2 separate regions of the Homo sapiens genome follow, and region 1 is linked to region 2. The links are contacts of gene promoters, found by promoter capture Hi-C in blood cells and fetal thymus (Javierre and others, 2016). All regions are on one chromosome and are shown on one strand. The core of a region is centred on a gene start or on the middle of the fragment in contact, and the rest is flanking DNA. Distances in the headings are between cores, read along the strand shown. Region 1 holds the start of SH3BGR (SH3 domain binding glutamate rich protein). Region 2 holds the start of PSMG1 (proteasome assembly chaperone 1).

Region 1 (2,769 bases), core at 117-2,616, 270 kb before region 2:
TTCATCACCCCTATTTCTTACGGCAGGTCCAGCTTGCACAGAATGAAGGCCAGAATTGAAGAGGTAGATGGTCTCAAGAAAATTAGACAAAGCACTGGTTATGAAGGTCGGCTTTCAGCTCTTATTTTGGGGCCGTCTGAATGCCTGGAGTGTTTATAACTGTGGCCTGAGAGATGTCTGCTCTGGTCACTGTGACATCACTTTCCTCAAACAATGGATTACACATGCTAACTTTACACTTTCAGTATGGTTACATCATTACATGGCATATACAAGTGATTACACCCCAGAGTCATTTTAGCAATCTGGTTCATCATCCGCTCCAAACAGTGTTACACAAAGTATCATTTATTTACAATTTTAAATTAGTTTAAGCCTTGCAGAATGAATGGCAGAAACACATACAAAAAAGTCCCTGCTTCTATGATATTCACAAGGCAACACAACACAAATCACATGTTAAAAATTCTAGTGTCAAGCACGCCTCCTTACTCGAATCCCTTTTCACACCCAGCCATCCAGATTACACCCTTTCCATGCTTTTTCAACACTATGAAATCAAATGCAGAAAGCAAAGGGCGCACATACTTATTGCAGAGCCACAGCTGACTACACGCAAAAAAGAAACTGAAGGCCAACGTTGGCCATATTTCCAACCCTAAGTTATTCAGAAAAGAGTATAGGAAGAAAGAGTCCACCAGACACCTACCGCTATGGACCCAGAAGATGTAGCAACAAACACTTTGATAACCATTTCGACAGTTGGAAAGAGGACTCCCCCCAACACACCCCTGTCAGGGAATGCGCCGCTAGACAAATCCTGACAGTGACACAGGCAAGCAAGTGCCAGGTCGGGGCTGGCAGCAGCCCAGGGGTCCACTGGGCTCCGGCAGTCCCGCTCCAACTTAAGAGGCTCTGTCTCTCCAAGGAGCAGCAGAGGCATCTTGGGCTCCTCCCTCCATTGGCCCAGGAATATTTTGGGATCTGTCAGGAAAATATTTGATTGGTCGATAAAAGCAGCCACTGGACCCTTTCCCTATCACTTTAAACGCGCGACAACAGTCCCTAAAAGGCCAGGCTGTGCTGTGCACCAATCGGAGACCTGTGCAGAGATGCCTTGGGGCCAAGGGAGGTGGGGCCCCGGTAACAGAGCAGCAGGAGGCGAAAGAAGTGAGGGAGGAGCTCTTGGGAGCTGGAAAAGCCCAGAAAACACCACCTCAGTCTAGGAGGAGGCTGGGTTTAAAGGGCTTTTGGCAAACAAATAAACTGGAAGGGTCAGAATAGCCACAGAGGCCTTTAAGTAAAGAGCAACTTTGTTTTTTTTCCTGGCAGGTTAAAAAAAATTTTTTAAGTAAACTGTCATACAATAGAAATGCCTTTAAGAGTGGCTGTTTCCAGTGTGCTCTCTTTCCCACCTGTTTCTCCTAAAGAACAGAAACTGACCAGCCATGGGCCATCTAAAGTTTCACTGACATCCAGGGAGGTAGGGAAATAGCCGCTGGCTTCTCAATACTCATGGCTGCAACAAGCCAATTGTCTCACTATTTTATTTACTTGTCACTGACTTGAAGTTTATTAACTATTTTAAAGTGCTTGGGGAAAAAACCAAAATAATCTGTTTATAACAGGCTCTTTGTTTACATAGGTATTTTGTGTTTATTTATATATATTTGTGTTTATACATGTTAATATTTATATAGGTATTTTGAATTGTGTTAAAAGTTAGAGAAGGTCCGGGGCAGTGTCTCACACCTGTAATCCCAACACCTTGGGAGGTCAAGGCAGGAGGATTGTGTGAGCCCAGAAGTTCAAGACCAGTCTGGGTAACATACTGAGGTACGACTTTACCAACAACAATAACACAAAAAAAAACAGCCAGGCATGTTGGCAGGCGCCTGTATCTGTATTTCCAGCGACTTGGAAGGCTGAGGTGGAAGGATCCCTTGAGCCCTTTAGCCAGGAGTTTGAGGCTGCAGTGAGCTATGATCACACCCACGGCACTCCAGCCTGGGTGACAGAACAAGACCTTATCTCTAAAACAAAACCAAATCAAACAAACAAACAAATTAAATTAAAGGAATACAAAATCTAGCAAAGAAGCCCAAATGCCAGTTATGCAAATTCTTCTGATAGATTTCAAAATCAAGATCAAGGGCATTAGGGACAAAGGGCTAGTTTTTCAAGAAGCACTTGGGGGATATTTAGCTTAGATAACTGAGTCTCTTACTGTCTCTCTCTCTCTCTGTTCTCCGGCTCCCTTTTTAAAATCCCCTGCTGCCCATCATGGATTGGGTGGCACCGACGTTCCGAAGCAGAGAGGAATCTCCCAGGCTTCTGTACTCCCTCTTCACCTGAGTCCCAGAGCCCCAGAGGCATGTTTCCCACCCCCTCAGGTAGGTGCCTGCAACGAGAAAAGACATCCCAGTCCCCGGAATATCCCAGTTCCTGGAATATCGCTTAAATGCCCCTACATCACAATGAATGATTGAGGTGACTACCAACATTTAACTTTTGGCTTCAACATGCAAAGTTAGCTGCTCCAAAAATAAGGTCCTTGATGAAGATGATTAATGGTTCCCCAAATTTAAGTCAGTAGAATTATAAATTTTATTTTAAAGCACACCAAGGATTACAGATCAGTTTTTCTTTTCTGCATTTTCAAAATTTCTACAGTACGTATTATTTTTTCATACAATTATATATTTTCACACCTTAAAGTCTGCCACATAAGCATGCCATATTTCTCCAAATATTACTTGAAGAAAGTGG
Region 2 (2,861 bases), core at 233-2,732:
ATGACAAATTAACAAAAGGACTAAGACAAGTGGTGCCCAAACAACCTTTTTATTCTGCAGTTCCATCATCATAATAGACCAGTTAACCCAGGAGTCCTAATGTTTTAAAACATCATTGTGGTGATCTTGTTTATTCTATCTCACTAAGGATATCCAGTTTCCTAAGCTCTTACTGGCTAGCAATTTCGTCTTAATTTTATTGCTAAATGTTCAAATTTTGCTTCCAAACTCACTTTATTTTTGCAGATGTGTACATCTGCTAAGTACTAATTTTATGTAAATGATTTTGTTGATTATCTTTCCACATCTTAAAATGTTTCTAACAGCTTTGAGATTTTATCTCAACAGGCTCTCTCTGACCCCAAAGTAGTACTTACCTTCGTGACTACTGACAAAGTCACAAAATGCAGGCGATGTCATGTATTTCGGTACAACTAAATCTAGGAAACGGTTTTTTCATTGCATTACTGCATATTTTCATTTTCATTTAAATTATGTCCCCTTTTTCTCTTGCTTGAAACAGTGCTCCTCGAACTTTGTCTTCCAGCACATTTTAAAGAGAACCAATTAAAGAACAATCACACATTCTGCTTATTAAAGGCTATTTAAAAAGAAACATTTTGTATTAGAAAATGGCCAACTTTAAAACACTATTTTTTACACTCATAAAAATGTTTTTTAAATCGCCTTGACAATCATCAGCTTTTGAAATGTGAATTCCTATTGCCAGAGTAAAGGTCTCGTTTTTATACCACCACGAAGCGCTGTATTTCTTGCTGCCCTTGCGTCCGCCCGTGCCCGCTGTCTGAGGGCGCGCCTGGCTACGGGGGCCCTCAGTACCACCGCGCCGCCACCTACCTGGGCAGTCGAAATTTGGAGCGGGTGCTCAGTACACTAATGCTACCCCAGTCTCTCCTAACGCAGAAGGAAAATGGAAACGGACGATGAGGGGACGGCCCCACAGCTCCCGGACGCCACGGCCAGCGGCGCTGGCTCCGCCCCTGCACCCCTGGTTCCGCTACCGCCACGAACGGAGGCCCCGCCCTCCTCTCGCCCCCTGCCCCTCTAGCCCGCAGTCCTCCCACCTCCTGGCGCCCGCAGGGCTCAAGCTGCGAATGAAAGCCTTTGGGGGCCGGACGCGGTGGCTGAGGCCTGTAATCCAAGCACTTTGGGAGGTCTAAGGAGGACGATCGCTAGAGTCCTGGAGTTCGAGACCAGTCTGGGCAACATAGCGAGACCCCCTCCCCCAATCTGTAATTTAAAAACAAAAAAGCTGCGGGGACTGCTGGCCCAGGGCATGACAGCGCGGGCGGGCGGTGTAGAGGGCGTGGCCGCGAGCTCAGGGTGTGCCTGGGAGCGAGCCCTGTGCGGGGCGGGACGTAGCGCCCGCGCGGTGGGGGTGTGGCCGCGAGCTTGGGCTGTGCGCGGAGGGCGTGGCCTGTGCGGGGCGGGACTTATTGCCCGCGCGGTGAGGGAGCGTGGTCTCGCGCAAGCCGGCGTGCGGTCCCGCGGCGCTGCAGTTGTGTCCAGCCGGTCACGGGGCGGCTATGGCGGCCACGTTCTTCGGAGAGGTGGTGAAGGCGCCGTGCCGAGCTGGGACTGAGGACGAAGAGGAGGAGGAGGAGGGGCGGAGGGAGACGCCCGAGGACAGGGAGGTGCGTCTGCAGCTGGCGCGGAAGAGGTGAGGCACCGGGATAAGGGCAGCGCGCTCACCGCAGCTGGAAGGTGCGCGGGCCTGGCAGCCGCGACGGCGCCTAAGGCCGGGGCTCCGCGGTCTTCCGAGTGGCCCCCGCGGTTGCCGCCGCTCCTTGGCTCTGCTTGGGCCCTGGGTCTCCGTGAAGCCGCGGCGTCCAGCGGCGCCAGCCCCAGGTGTGTGTGGTTCTCGCGTGGATCTGCTGGCGTTTCGTGGAGTCCAGGGTGAAGCCGCTGTGGGAGGGCTGGGTTCAAATCCGTTCTTTAAAGGCTTTCTGGAGCGTTTCTGGAGCATTTCTGGAGGCTTGGTGTCTTGCGGACTCGTGATCTTCCCGCTTGTCACACTGTCTTGGGCCGCAGCGCTCCCGCGGGCCCCACCACGTTTGTCGTGGATTGTTCACGGACACACCAATTCCCTCGAAACTTTTTAAACCTGCACCCAACACTTCAATTAGCATGATGTGTCAGTAGCCGATGAACACGCTTTAAAAAAATTGTTTCCAAACACAAAAAAGTGGGAGAAAATAGTCAAGTGAGCCCTGACCCCTACACAACCGGGTAAATTCAACAGGAAGATTTTGCCACGTTTATTTTCTCTCCCGCCACTCCTAAGCGAATTCCAGTCATCATGGCCTTTCACCTCTACATTTTTCAGAATACATCTCAAACGTTTTAGGGATTTTCTTACATATGCTATTATCACCCCTAACAACACTAATACTAATTTTCCAGTATCATTTTGTAGTCCATGCTCACTCACGTTTACCTAGTTTTTTCAAACATGACATTTTACAGTGGTCTGCGTGAATGAGAATCCTAACAGGGTCCACAGGTTACATTTAGACGTGTCACTTCATTTAGAGCAACCTCCTCTTACCCCTCCTAAGAGACAGGACTGATTGTCTTGTCCAGTGCCCCCACACTCTGAATTTGTCTGATAGCTTCGTTGTGGTGTCACTTAACGTTTGTATCACCTGCATGTCCTGTAAAATGAATGTTCATTTGGAGGCTTGGTCAGATTCTCATTCAAAGTTTTGTCGGCAAGAATGCTTCTACTAAGTGGTGCTTTCTGTTTCTTATTGCAGGCTATCCCCAGCTGTCTCACTTTTAGGGATGCTAAGATTGGTTCTTGGGTCAGGTGGACAGCCTGATCACTATTTTAGAGTTCT

Evidence for each region. Contacts are between HindIII fragments. The CHiCAGO score rates a contact against its expected background, and 5 or more counts as called.
Region 1: a fragment that was not itself captured here is called in contact with the fragment with the promoter of PSMG1 in region 2 in 7 of 17 cell types (naive CD8 T cells, total CD8 T cells, total B cells and 4 more); the score reaches 9.9 in naive CD8 T cells.

What each region holds. Positions count from the first base shown.
Region 1 is chr21:39,450,082-39,452,850 of GRCh38, reverse strand. All of the region lies in intron 8 of GET1-SH3BGR (GET1-SH3BGR readthrough), which reads right to left. It overlaps SH3BGR (SH3 domain binding glutamate rich protein), which reads right to left and starts at 881. Exons shown (of 7, transcript NM_007341.3): 1 at 710-881. The coding sequence starts at 754. RefSeq lists an enhancer at 901-1,439. The HindIII fragment of the contact is 9,000 bases long and covers 1-2,769 here.
Region 2 is chr21:39,182,072-39,184,932 of GRCh38, reverse strand. PSMG1 (proteasome assembly chaperone 1) reads left to right here and starts at 1,482. Exons shown (of 7, transcript NM_003720.4): 1 at 1,482-1,681. The coding sequence starts at 1,548. It also overlaps a transcript of BRWD1 not described here. RefSeq lists silencers at 1,307-1,526, 1,727-1,806. The HindIII fragment of the contact is 4,125 bases long and covers 1-2,861 here.